Linked DNA regions of Homo sapiens: regions 1 and 2 are each linked to region 3. The links are contacts of gene promoters, found by promoter capture Hi-C in human tissues and cell types (Jung and others, 2019). All regions are on one chromosome and are shown on one strand. Each heading gives the region's core, a stretch centred on a gene start or on the middle of the fragment in contact. The rest is flanking DNA. Distances are from core to core; before and after follow the strand shown. Region 1 overlaps CUX1 (cut like homeobox 1). Region 2 overlaps CUX1 (cut like homeobox 1). Region 3 holds the start of SH2B2 (SH2B adaptor protein 2).

What was found. The method cuts DNA at HindIII sites, captures the fragments that hold promoters and counts their contacts. A contact is called where the count stands out against the background at its distance.
Region 1: a contact is called between a fragment that was not itself captured here and the fragment with the promoter of SH2B2 in region 3, in 2 of the 25 tissues and cell types used here (dorsolateral prefrontal cortex and spleen).
Region 2: a fragment that was not itself captured here is called in contact with the fragment with the promoter of SH2B2 in region 3 in 2 of the 25 tissues and cell types used here (H1 embryonic stem cells and dorsolateral prefrontal cortex).

What each region holds. Positions count from the first base shown.
Region 1 is chr7:101,830,924-101,835,134 of GRCh38, forward strand. All of the region lies in intron 1 of CUX1 (cut like homeobox 1), which reads left to right. Among named protein-coding and RNA genes, the nearest start is that of CUX1, 15 kb to the left of the region's middle. RefSeq lists an enhancer at 865-1,506. The HindIII fragment of the contact is 8,098 bases long and covers 1-4,211 here.
Region 2 is chr7:101,852,798-101,857,386 of GRCh38, forward strand. All of the region lies in intron 1 of CUX1 (cut like homeobox 1), which reads left to right. Among named protein-coding and RNA genes, the nearest start is that of CUX1, 37 kb to the left of the region's middle. RefSeq lists an enhancer at 4,125-4,254. The HindIII fragment of the contact is 8,031 bases long and covers 1-4,589 here.
Region 3 is chr7:102,284,946-102,289,034 of GRCh38, forward strand. SH2B2 (SH2B adaptor protein 2) reads left to right here and starts at 1,923. Exons shown (of 9, transcript NM_001359228.2): 1 at 1,923-2,149. RefSeq lists silencers at 1,241-1,820, 1,891-2,430 and an enhancer at 3,581-3,670. The HindIII fragment of the contact is 12,688 bases long and covers 1-2,575 here.

The DNA.
Region 1 (4,211 bases), core at 657-3,156, 450 kb before region 3:
TTTTTTCATAGGTTGTTGGGGCCGTGCATCCATTCGTGTTCTGAGCACACTCCATGGTACCTGATGACTCGAATGGATCCTGTTCAAGCCCCTGGGTTACCCAAAGAAATATACTTCTGGCCTGCTGGTTGGTCAGAGAATGCAGGACACATTGGGGTATCGCGAGGTGTCCAATGGCAGCGGGTTGGGTGTGTCTGCTGTGTGAACAGGGCAGGGGTTTGGGAAGATGGACTCTGGCTGTCTTGCTCCAAAGACTTCCTTAGGCTGTTGTTGAGCATTTATTGAGTGTCTCCTGTGTGCCGGGCAGCATTCTAGCATAGGGATTGAGTGACCAGACAGTAGGGAATCCTTGCCCTTAAGGAACTGACATTCTTTTTTTTTTTTCGAGATGGAGTCTTGCTTTGTCGTCCAGGCTAAAGTGCAGTGGTGCAATCTCGGCTCACTGCAACCTCTGCTTCCTGGGTTCAAGTGATTCTCCTGTCTCAGCCTCCTGAATGGTTGGGATTACAGGTGTGCACCACCACGCCGGGCTAATTTTCTGTATTTTTAGTAGAGGCGGGGTTTTGCCATGTTGGCCTGGCTGGTCTCGAACTCCTGACCTCAGGTGATCCACCCACGTCAGCCTCCCAAAGTGCTGGGATTACAGCCGTGAGCCACCATGCCTGGCCGGAACTGACATTCTTGCAAGGGGGATGGAAGACAAAGGCAAGGAATAAGTGAGTGCCCAGTGGCCTGGGAACAGACGGAGCAGGACTGATACACAAAGCCCCACAGAGTCACTTCTGTCTTCTGAAGGCCCTGAGAAATAACTTTATTATTATTATTATTATTATTTAGAGACAGAGTCTCGCTCTGTCGCCCAGGCTCCAGTACAGTGGTGTGATTATAGCTCACTGCAGCTTTGACCTCCCGGGCTCAAGCTATCCTCCCACCTCAGGTTCCCGAGTAGCTGGAATTACAGGCATGCGCCACCATGCCAGGCTAACTTTTTTGTATTTTTTGTAGAGATGGGGGGGTCTCACTGTGTTGCCCAGGCTGGTCTTGAACTCCTGGCCTCAGGCGATCCTCCTGCCTTAGCCTCCGAAAGTGCTGGGATTCCAGGCCTGAGCTGCCATGCCTAGCCCCGATTTTTAAACTGAAGAGGGATGGTTCAGTTGTTGGGGTGTGTCTTAGAGGATCCTTCTGGAAGCCCCACATGGAAGGCGGGCTAGAGTGAGGAGGGAGGGGTGATAATGGAACCAGGAGGGTGTGGTGGTCATGGCCCAGTGAGAGGATGCCAGGCTGTGGCCGTGCCAGACTCAGTGTGCCTGGCCCTGGCATTTCAGGCAGGGACCACTGAGGGGTGATGGGAGAGATGGGGCTGGGTGAGTGGCATTTCCACAGGCATCCAGAGGGGTGCGAAAAACTGAGGTTGGGGAACAGCAGGGGCAGGGAACAGCCTGTGGAGGGTGTGGTCATCAGTGTCCCCCACCGACATGGCACATCCAGCGAGCCCACTGTGTCCCCAGCACCTGCGGTGCAGGGGGCTGGCACCTTCAGGGGCGGGCTTCGTGCAGACGTCCACCCAGTCAGTCCCCACAGGTTTATCAAACACAAGTGGGGCGACAGGACCCACACTTCGGCGTTGGACGTGACTCACGCGGGGAGTTGGCTTGGAGTTCCTTTATTCATCCCTATTTGCTTTCTGTCTGTAATCCTTTGTAATTCCCTGGTTTCATGATGTAATTCTAATGGAAATAAACCCGAACCTTTCAAAATTATGTAATTAATTGCATTCAGCTTCAATGACAATGACTAATTATAGTGATACCTGGTGGCAAGGCAGGTACCTACTGCTGGGGGGCTCCTGTCTGCTTGGTACTAGGACTGCCACTTCTGGGCGCGTCGGAGCGGCTGCACAGGGGGTCAGCTGGCTGTCCTGTGGCCTGCTCCGGTGCCTCTGGTCCCCATCTTACCAGGAGCAGCGCCATGGCCATGCAGGGAGGGGCCGGAGAGGGAGGTGGTGTGCAGGGAGGAGCTGCTTAGGGGTGGGAGGGCTTGGACTTGTCTGCAGGTTAAAGAGAAGTCTTGCTGGGAAAGTAACTTCGGGGCTGGTTCCCTGAGAGCATTCTTCTCTGATTCATGTATTTTCCTGAGAAAAAGGGAGGAGGGTGCGTTCGACTGAACGTGAAGCGTTCAAGGATCGGAAAGGCAAGCCAGGTACAGTGGCTTACACCTGTAATACCAACACTTTGGGAGGCTGAGGCAGGAGGATCACTTGAGAGCCCAGGAGTTCAAGACCAGCCTGGGCAGCACAGTGAGACCCCATCTCTACAGAAAAAAAAAAAGAAAAGAAAAGAAATTAGCCCAGCATGGTGGCTCACACCTGTGATACCAATACTTTAGGAGGTCAAGGCGGAAGGATTGCTTGAGCCCAGTTGTTCAAGACCAGCATGGGCAACAGTGAGACCCTGTCTCTACAGAAAAAAAAAAAAGAAAGAAATTAGCTGAGCGTGATGGTGCACACCTGTGATCCTGGCTGCTCAGGAGGCTGAGGCAGGAGGATCGCTTGAGCCCAGGAGTTGGAAGCTGCAGTGACGTATGACAGTGCCATTCCACTCCAGCCTGGGTGACAGAGCAAGAGGAAGACTCTGTCTCTTAAAAAAAAAAAAAAAAAAAAAAAAGAATCCAAAAGCAAGCTTATGGAGAAGGGAGAAAGTGCGACAGTCACCTCGGGGCGTGGGAGAGCAGAAGATGGATGTCAGGTTAAAAACCATTACTGTGCTGTAGTATTTCCAGGAGGCCAAGTCCAGGGCTCTGGGACCTGTACACTGCGGCATCAGACCCTAAAACAGAGCTCTCAGGTTTTCGCCTTCCCAGGAAGTCTGCATCCTTTTTGCAGACTGGTTTTATTCTGTGTTAGGAGGAGGCGATTTTGCTAAGAAATCTTCACTGCAATTTTCCCCCCCAAATCAGGGCACTTGGCATCTCCTTCTAACGGGGGGTGCAGAGTCTGTCCTAGAATGGGACGCACAGTGTTCACACGAGTACCGAGTAGGTGGGGTGCTGGGCCGGCCCCTCTGATCCTGTCCTACCCTGTGCAGCCACGTGCCTTTCCTTATCCCCAGACTTCTGTTGTCACGATTCTTCCAGGGAAGAATCTGGAAGTGGAATCCACAGGGCGGTGCCCAGGGATGGCCTTTAGTGCCTAGTGTTCTGTTTCAGAGAGAGGCCTCTTATTTATTTGAAAAGCTGATTGTTTCTTTTTTTTTTTTTTTTTTTTTTTTTTGAGATGGAGTCTCCCTCTGTTGCCCAGGCTGGAGTGCAGTGGCACTATCTCAGCCCACTGCAACCTCCGCCTCCTGGGTTCAAGCGATTCTCCCGCCTCAGCCTCCCGAGTAGCTGGGACTACAGACACCCGCCACCACGCCCAGCTAATTTTTGTATTTTTAGTAGAGATGGGGTTTCGCCATGTTGCCCAGGCTGGTCTGGAACTCCTGACCTCAGGTGATCTACCTGCCTTGGCCTCCCAAATGCTGGGATTACAGGCATGAGCCACCACGCCCAGCCTTATTTTCTATTTTTAAAGAAAGAGCAAGACTGAAAACATTTGCATGCACAGTGAGTTTTAAAAAGTTCCTTTTTTTAGAGAGGACCAAGAAGGTGCAGAGTACTCTTGAAAAGAAATTTTTTTTCTGTTCTAAACGTGCCGCTTGTTGCCCTGGTGCAGAGAGCAGTTCTTTTGATACAATACCTCCGTCCCGTAACTTTTTTTTAAAGCTAAAATTCATATAATGTAACATTTACCTTTCCAAAGTTTAAAATTCTGGCCAGGCCTGTAATCCCAGCACTTTGGGATGCTGAAGCGGGCAGACCACTTGAAGCCAGAAGTTTGAGATCAGCCTGGCCAACATGGCAAAACCCTGTCCCTACTAAAAATACAAAAATTAGCCAGGTGTGGTGAGCGCTTGTAATCCCAGCTACTCAGGAGGCTGAGGCAGGAGAATCTCTTGAACCCGGGAGGCAGAGGTTGCGGTGAGCCAAGATCTCGCCACTGCACTCCAGCCTGGGTGACAGAGCGAGACTCTGTGTCATAAATAAATAAATAAATAAATAAATAAATAAATAAAGTTTAAAATCCATAGGTGTTTGGTATACTCACAATGTCGTGCAGCCATCACCACGATCTAGTTCCAAAACGTTTCCAACACCCCGACAAGAAACTCCCATAC
Region 2 (4,589 bases), core at 1,403-3,902, 430 kb before region 3:
TCCCAAGTAGCTGGGATTATAGGCACATGCCACCATGCCTGGCTAGTTTTTTGTATTTTTAGTAGGGACAGGGTTTCATCATGTTGCCCAGGCTGGTCTTGAACTCCTGACCTCAGGTGATCCACCTGCCTCGTCCTCCCAAAGTGCTGGGATTACAGGCATGAGCCACTGTGCTTGGCCTCTGCATTGAATTCTTACTGTCTTTACTTTGTAAAATGTTTTTTAAAAATATATAAACAGTTGCATACCATGCATTTTGGTTGCAAAATATAATACAGTGAACACCCAGGAACCCTCCACCCAACCCTAAGAATCAGAGCTTTGCCAGTCAATTGCATCCACCTGTATATTCCTCCCACCTCCTATTCCCTGCCCCCTCTCTGGGACAGGTGACCCATCCTAAGTAGTGTATTTATTATGCTCTTGCCTAAAATAATGTATTTTCTGCACCCATGAATAGATGCTTAAGTAGTATATGATTACTCTTCCCTGAGTTTGAGCTCTATAAAAATGGTATTATTCTGCAATAGACTTGCAGGATTTGCCTTTTGAACTTGAGTTACTGCAACATTATCTGTGAGGTTGTCTGTTATAACTGTGGTCCATTTATTTTCTCTGATGCTTAAACCCAGTTGTGCGGCTAGACCCAAATTTCTTTAGCCTTTGTCCTGTCGCTTTGTCTGTTTTCCTCGTTTCCCTCTTTGTTTTGGTCCCAGTTAGAGGTTTCCTCAAATGCCTAGTGACGTGTTGTTGTTTGTTCATATATCAGAGCATGGCAATAGAAAGGGTGTGTGTGTGTGTGTGTGTGTGTGTGTGTGTGTGTGTCGGGGTAAAGAGCAGTTTTGGTGGCCCCCACCGTAAGTAATTAACCCAGGTGTCTAGTTGCGGGGAGCCCCCAGGCATGGGTATCAGTGGCTCATTCTCTTGGACTGGTCAGTTTCTCTAGCAAGGAGCCCTCAGTGTTCCTGCTGGGTGGTGCAGTTGGGAACTGTTAGTCTGACCACCTGTCTTCTAGGCACCAGGCTGGGGCATGTGCTGGGATATTCACTCAGCCCCCTGCCCATGGTCATGAGAAACCCCAGTCTTCTGCCCACAGTGCAGGAGGGACCTGACCGCAGTGGCATTTTGCACACCTGCCCGGCCTCCAAGTCCTGCAGCTCGAATGAGCTTGCTTGCTGCAGGCGGCCTGCTCCATCTTGAGGCTTGTCTGGAAAGGCGGCTTCGGCTTTCCAGTGCTTTCCAGCGCTTTCCAGCTTCTGAGATTTTGGGGGCTTTTCATTTGTTCTTGCTTTCCTGTCCTCTTTGTCAGGTGAGTTTATACCTTTCTGTTCCAAAGCAAACAGGATCGTCTGCCATGTTGAACTGGATGTCGGACAATTCTGAAATGTGTGCATGGGGCAAGGCTGTGTGTGATGATACCAGTTTCATAGGAAACACTTCGGTTTTGGTTTTGTCTTTCAAAGTCATCTTTTGTGAGCGCCTTCTAGCCGGGCTGCCAGCGGGTAACATATGATTAACACAAGTTTGGAGTCTGTCTGCAGAGCAACTTTATGAAATGCTCAGAAAGCCAGTCTCCTAAGCATAGGAGCCTGTTTGGTGGTGATGGGATGAGGAAGCAGTGGGGGCTTTGGCACCAGAGGCCTGGGCTCAAATCCTGCCTCCATCATTTAGGGGTTGGGCATCTCCATTCCCTTATCTCTGGGTGGCGAGAACTTCCTAAGTTCTTAGTGTTTGGAAGGGACCCCCTCCATAAAGTGAGGTGCCTCTTGGCCACTGCTCAGCCAGTGGGGGCTGTTCCTAACAGTTGCCTCCTCCGATTGCTGGAGTAAGAAATGACACCCTGTCTCCCATTTCTGTGGCACCCCATTCTCAACAGTGATGGTTCTGCCTGTTTTTAGTCACACACACCTGCACACTTCAAAGGACTAAAAATGGACTCAGTTTTCTTTCTTTTTTTTTCTTTTTGAGATGAAGTCTCACTCTATCACCCAGGCTGGAGTGCAGTGGCATCATCTTGGCTCACTGCAACCTCCGCCTCCTGGGTTCAAGCGATTCTTGTGCCTCAGCCTCCCAAGTAGCTGGGACTACAGGCATGTGCCACCACACCCAGCTAATTTTGTATTTTTAGTAGAGGTGGGGTTTCACCAGGCTGGTCTCAAACTCCTGACCTCAAGTGATCCTCCCACCTCAGCCTCCCGAAGTGCTGGGATGACAGGTGTGAGCCACCTCGCCCGGCCTGGACTCAATTTGGATTGCAATGCCCCACAATGGTGACCTCCCTCTTCTCTGTTAATGCATCCTCTTCCCTCTTGCTTAAAAATTTCCCCAGTGCCGTGGCATCTTACCTCCTGCTGAAGTGTGTGCTGATGCTTTGCTGGGGGCTGGACCCCGTCCCTTGGAGCCTGGCCCAGGCCCTGCCTCCCAGTGAAACCCTGGCCGCCTTTCCAACCTCAGAGGCTCTATCTCCTCCCAAACCCTGTAGCCCTTCCAGTTGCTGGTCACTGACTTCCATTAATTGGCCCGGTGGCCTTGCCTGCCAGGGGGACCATGAGGTGAGGGGCCGTGTCCTCCGAGTGGTCTCTTTCTCCAGGGTGCTGGGGACCCAAGAAATGCCTGGTCGTTTCTCATAGGTTGATAAGGAAAATGAGGCCTAGGTAGGGACAGGCAGGATTTCACCTGAATTTACAAGATGATGCAATGGAAGAGTCTTCAGTATATTTTCACGTATTTTAGAATTGAGTTACAACATTCATTTTGGTACTTTCTCTGTGTTCTCCCCATGTGTTAAAAAGCAGCTTAAGGCCGGGCGCGGTGGCTCATGCCTGTAATCCCAGCACTTTGGGAGGTCAAGGCGGGTGGATCACGAGGTCAGGAATTCCAGACCAGCCTGGCCAACATGGTGAAACCCCGTCTCTACTAAAAATACAAAAATTAGCTGGGCGCAGTGGCAGACGCCTGTAATCCCAGCTACTCGGGAGGCTGAGGCAGGGGAATCGCTTGAACCCGAGAGGCGGAGGTTGCAGTGAGCCAAGATTGTGCCATTGCACTCCAGCCTGGGCGGTAGAAGGAGTTTCCAGCTCAAAAAAAAAAAAAAAAATGCAGCTTAAGTGCTGGTTTAGCGCCTGTAATCCCAGCACGTTGGGAGGCTGAGGCGGGAGGATCACTTGAGCCCAGGAGTTTGTGACTAGCCTGGGCAACATAGCAAGAACCCGTCTGTACAAAAAATAAGAAAAATTGGCCAGGTGTGGTGGCGTGCATCTGTAGTCTCAGCTCCTTGGGGGCTGAGGCTGAAGGATCGCTTGAGTCCAGCAGGAGGTCAAGGCTGCAGTGAGCTATGATCAAGCCATTGCACTCCAGTCTGGGTGACAGAGTGAGACCCTGTCTCAAAAAAAAAAAAAAAAAAAAAAAAGGAAACAAGAAAGAAAAAAGCAGCTAAATTCTGCTGGAAGTGTGCAGTAAAGCACAAGTTTTCAGCCATCAACGCAGGGAGCCGTTAATCACGACCCATAATAACCAGAATGTTATTCCACGGTTGCGGTTTGTTTATTTCATCAGAGTTGCGTCTTCACCTATTTCCCTCCCTACTCTTAATTGTTTATCCAAGTTAGTGTTTTCCATTCTTTCACTGAAGGCTCTAAAAATGGTCCCATCAAGAAGTCTGGTAGATAATGGAAGACGAAGTGGACTTTACAGAAAGATGAATTTTCTTCCCTAGAGCTGGAAAACCCTTCAGCGTGTCATGCGTTCCCCAGCCAGGACAGACAAAGCCACGCAATCTGTTTCCTGCAGGCCCAGAGGGGAAGGCTTCCTCCTTGTGGTTAGTGACTTCAAAAGCTGTCCTCACTAGAGCAAGTCCAACTCTTCCTCTAGTTCTGATGACTTCACGGCAGCCAACTGAGCTGCTGAACGCTGTTTTTTTCTACGCAGAAACCCTCCCGACTTTCACGAGGAGTTGACAGGTTTTCCTCTTCACTCGGGCTCCCTTGTCATCGTTAAACTGAAACTGCTTTCTTGTAGCCAAATTCTGTGGTCCCTTTTCGGCCTCGGCCTCCTTGACCTCTCTGTGTCCCCACCTTGGCTCTCCCACGCCTGCCAGCCGTACCACAGGCCCCGGGTGTGAACCCTCCCTCCGCGGTCATGCAGCCACGCCTCTGCTCAAGCTGTGCCTCCTCCTGGGCGCACCCTCCCTCTCCCATCCTTCAGCCTCTGAAGTCCTGCCCAGCTCCGGTTCCTGTTTCTGTTAGGACGAGGCCCTTCAGATCCTCTCCAGCAGGTGGACTCTGTCCTGCCCCGTACCACCCGCCGCGGGCCACTTTTGGGCCTGCGCCATGTTCCTGCCCTTACCCCGCCCGGTGTTAGCGTCACGTGGGTCCTGATGTCCTCCCTCTCCCAGGCCTCTGCTTATCTGATTGGGGGCTGTGCTTGACTCTGAAACCCGGGCACCTCCTACAGGGCATTTTGCCTGTCACAGGCCTAGCATTCAATACCTATCATATTTTTGAAATATCTGCAGAAATAAAAAGAAATAACTATTTTCTTCTTCAGGAGTTAAGATGCGTGGCCACCAAGTACTTTTCAATACATAAAAT
Region 3 (4,089 bases), core at 673-3,172:
ACTTCTTCCAAGCCCCTCAAGCCTCCTGCCCTCAGGGACCCAGGATGGACCTTTCCTCCCTGACCTTCATTCCTATCCCCAGCGAGGCGACAGCTGCTCTTGGCCAACCACGCCCCCTCCACCCCCACAGCCACTTCCACATCTCCATCAGTTCCTCCTTGTGGGTCCGAGGCGCTCTGCCGCCGGCCCCTCCTCACTTCTTCCTCCCTGGGGATGGATCCAAGCTATTGTCCTGCCCATGGCTTCCCATCTCAGGACCCTCTCTGGCCGCTATCATCCCAGCAGTGGAGTTCAGCCCACTACTCTGAACCAGGTTAGTCCACCGCGGGTCAGGCTCTCCCCTCTCCCAGGAGGGTGGAGACCACAACCAGGCCATGTATGGAGCTTCCCTTTCTCCCACTCTCGGGCACCCCCTCCTCCCCCTTCCCGGCCTCATTCATAGGTGTCCTGGTTCCCAACCAGGCGTGCAGGCCTGTGTGCAGCTCCGATCGAGGGCTGGCCCACTGCCGAAGCTTTCATTAAAGTGTCTGCTGGCCTGGTCCTGCGGAGGGAACAGAGCCGAGATGTGGGGCAGGGAAGGGGTCTGCCTGTCTTCCGTGCCCCCGTGGAGGGCAGCACCGGGGTTTTGGGCAGCAGGTGAAGGCTCTGTCCCCTCCACCTTCAACTCTGGAAGCCCCACCTTTCCATCCCTAAGAAGGGTTTGATAAAAACCCTTGTCTGTAAATTAGAGATGGGAAATGGCTCTGGGAAAAGTCAGAGGTCAGTTTGGGCCCGGGAGGGCGACAGATGGAGGCAGCTCCGGCTGGCAAGGAGACCAGGACAGAACTGCCAGAGGTGGGGGCAGGGGACAAGGAGGGAGATGAGGGGAGAAGACACCCAGGGGTCCCCCCCTGCTATCTCCAGGAGCAAGACTACTCTCTTCTCTGAGCGGCCCTTTCCACACCTCTGCCCCCACCGAAGCCCTCCCTCCCCTCTCAGACCCCTTCCAGGCCTGCTGAGCCCCCTGCACCTCTTTCAGGAAGCCTCCCAGAGCCCCCGCGCTGTGCCCTCAGCACCAGGGGTCAGGCTACAAATGCCCCGCAAAGCCCAGCGGGACTGTTTCCTCAGCCCCACTGGTCTCTGCCCTAAAGCAGGCGAGTTCTGGAGCCAGGCAGGGGTGAGGAAGGTGCCAGGGTTGTGGCCCCTCATCGCCCCTCTATGATCTCTGACACCTCTCCGGGTGGCATCAGGCCCCCATCACAGCGAAGGCTGGGTGGTGGGGGCACTGCGCTCAGGGGGGCCGTCCCGCCCTGTGGCCCGGGGGCGATTTCCCGCACCGGAGGGCTGCAGGGAGGGGGCGTGGTGGCGCCCTCGAGATTTATGAGAACCAGGCGTCGACTTCCTCCGTTGCGACATCCAGGCCTCCTCCAGGCTCCCATTGTCCCTGCTGCGGAGAGTCTGGCCACAGCGGCGGCTCCCGCGAAGCACCCGTCAGCGAGGGGCGCTTCGAGGGCGTCCGCGTCCCATACACCCGCCACGCAGGACATTCCCCCGGCCCCACGCTCCGCGCTCCCGGGGCCACCACCACCGCGGGCTCGAGGGGTGGCCTCCACGAGGAGGAGTGGGAGTCCCGCGCCTGGCCTGGGGCCGGCTCGGCGACATGGGGACCCCCGCCCAGATGGGGCGACTCGGAGCCGGCTCCTAACCCCTCTCTCCGGGCCCCAGGACCGGGCAGTCTCGGCACCGCAGCTGCGGGGAGCCAGCAAGCACCGGCCACCGGCGCCGCTCGGGCTCCGCGGATGGCCGGGGGCGGGGCCTGAGCGGCGCAAGTGGGGGCGGGAGGGGGCGGGGCCAGGACGCGCGAGGGGGGGCGGGGCCGGGGCTCGCGGCGGGGGCGGGGGCGGGGCGGGGCCGGGAGGCGCGCGCCTCGCGGGCGGAGGGGCGCGCCGCGCTGGGGCTGGGCTTGGAGCGCGCGGAGCTCGGCTGCCAGAGAGCCGCGCGGGGGACGCGCCGGGACCGCGAGGAGCGCAGGAGCCTTCGAGGCGGTGAACGAGGGAGGGAGCCCAGTCCGCCGCGGGCCATGAGCCACCGGGCCCGGGGAGCCCGGCCGCGGTCCGGGCAGCGCTCAGCCGGCGCCCCAGCCCGCTCGGCCGCAGCTGCGCGCCTGTAGGTATGGCCTCCTTATACCCAGTTCCTCGCTCCCTGGTCCTTCCCCCGGGACCCCTGTCTGTCCCCGGGGACGTGCGCTGTGTGCGCACCGCTGCCCGAAGGAGAGCGGCCGCACGCGCCTTGGTCCGCGCGTGTCGTCTTTGTGTGCGCGGGTGGGAGGGAGGAGGGCGCGCGAGGGAGGGGAGGCGCCCCCGGCTGGGATCTGCTCCCCGATCCCCATCCCGGGCGGGGCGGGGAGCCGCTGGAGGGGCCGAGCCGCCTCTGGAGCAGCTGCGCCCCCGCCCCCTGCTAGGGCCCCGGCCGGGTAGTGGGGCGAGAGCAGCCGGGTCCTTAGAGGAGGGGTCTCTGGTTGGGGGAAGGGGTGCCCAGGTCTCTTCCCTACGCTGGGAGCGCTGGGAGGGGGCGTCAACCTAGAATGAGGGTGAGGGCCACGGGATGGGATCGGGGAGGACCTCCTCCAGGCCACAGGCACGCCCTCCCTTTGGCCCAGGCCCCCCTTTCTCGACCTGCCCAGCCGGGGAGCTCCCCGGAGCCCCCGATTGCCGGGAGGATCGTGGAGGGTGCCCAAGAGGCCGGCGCCTTTAAGAAGGGGCGGGTTCGTGCCCTCCATTCAGGCCCTTGGGCCTCGGCCATTGATGAACCTGCGGGCTGCGCGGGCCGGAACCGCGCCAGCCCAGCGGGCTGAAGCCGGGCAGAGGCAGGGACGCATCCTGGCCCCCTGCAGCCCCGAAGTGGGGGCCTTCAGGGAGGGAAGTCTGCAGTGACTGGAGCCTCTCAGGAGCCACGCAAGGCAGACCGGGCAGCCCCAGGCGAGACTCTGAACACGAATAAGCCAGGATCTACGTGCACTTCGAGCTAGTGCAAGGGAGAGCCTCAGGCTAGGCTGTCAGACCTGGGTGGAGCCCTACCAATGCCCCCGAGCCAACATCACCTACCCTGTAAAATGGGATGGTGCTGCCTGCCTCCTGGCTAAGGGACCGGCAACTCCCGGCAGGAATTGCGTCCCAGAGTCAGGTCCCTGGAGCTCCTCTGGGAGGACTGGGGGCAGGGGGTGTGGTTTCCCCAAGAGGTTTTGACTGCCTCTTGAGCTGAAGCCCCCACTACTGTGTCCCACCTTGAACTCTCCCAACCTCTTCCCTCCTGGCCTCCCCACTCCACGCAGGAAGAGGTTGGGAGAGTGACCTAGAACTTTTCAGCTCCAGGAGCTTTGGGAGAGGTCTGGTGGTGGCGGTGGTGGCACTTCTTTTAGGCTAGTGTGGATCAGGGCATTTTTGGGGGTCTCAGAGACAGTTTCCCACCAGCTACTTCCTTAGAGGTCTGTCCTACCAACATACAAGAACAGCCCCACCCCGTGGCAGGCCGGCTTCTGATGCTGCTTGGTTGAATGCTTCTAGGTAATCAAGGGTTAATGCACACGCTTTTCTTTTTACCCTTGTTGTGAAAAATCTGTCTGAAGTTTCTAAATCCCTCTTCCCTACTTAGCGTGAATCTCCTAGGGAGGACTTCTATACAAATACCCAGGGGTGGGCTTCCCTTGGGGGTCTTGGAAGTGGGATCTCCACCCAAGTGATCCTGGGCCTCCCAGGGCTGAGCTTTTGGTTTCAAACTTACTTGTGCCAAGCTAAGGGCATCAGGATCGCCGTTCGTGTCATCTTTACAACAATCCTGTGGGTTTAGTGCTATTATTATCCCCACACACTTAGGGAGGGGAAGTGACTGGCCCAAAGTCCCGCAGTCAACGAGCCAGGCCTCCCAACCACTCCTCTCTGACAAGAGGCTGGCACTTCTTGCCCTGCCTACCCAGCCTGGGTTGCAAGGAATTGGGGGTTTAGGGGCTTCAGGCCTCCTGGCTGCTGTCTTCCCGGGGCTACGCTCATTCTTACTGTCCAAGTGAGGCCAGGGGACTGGTCAGAGCCCTGGGGCCTGGGGAGGTTTCTCTTC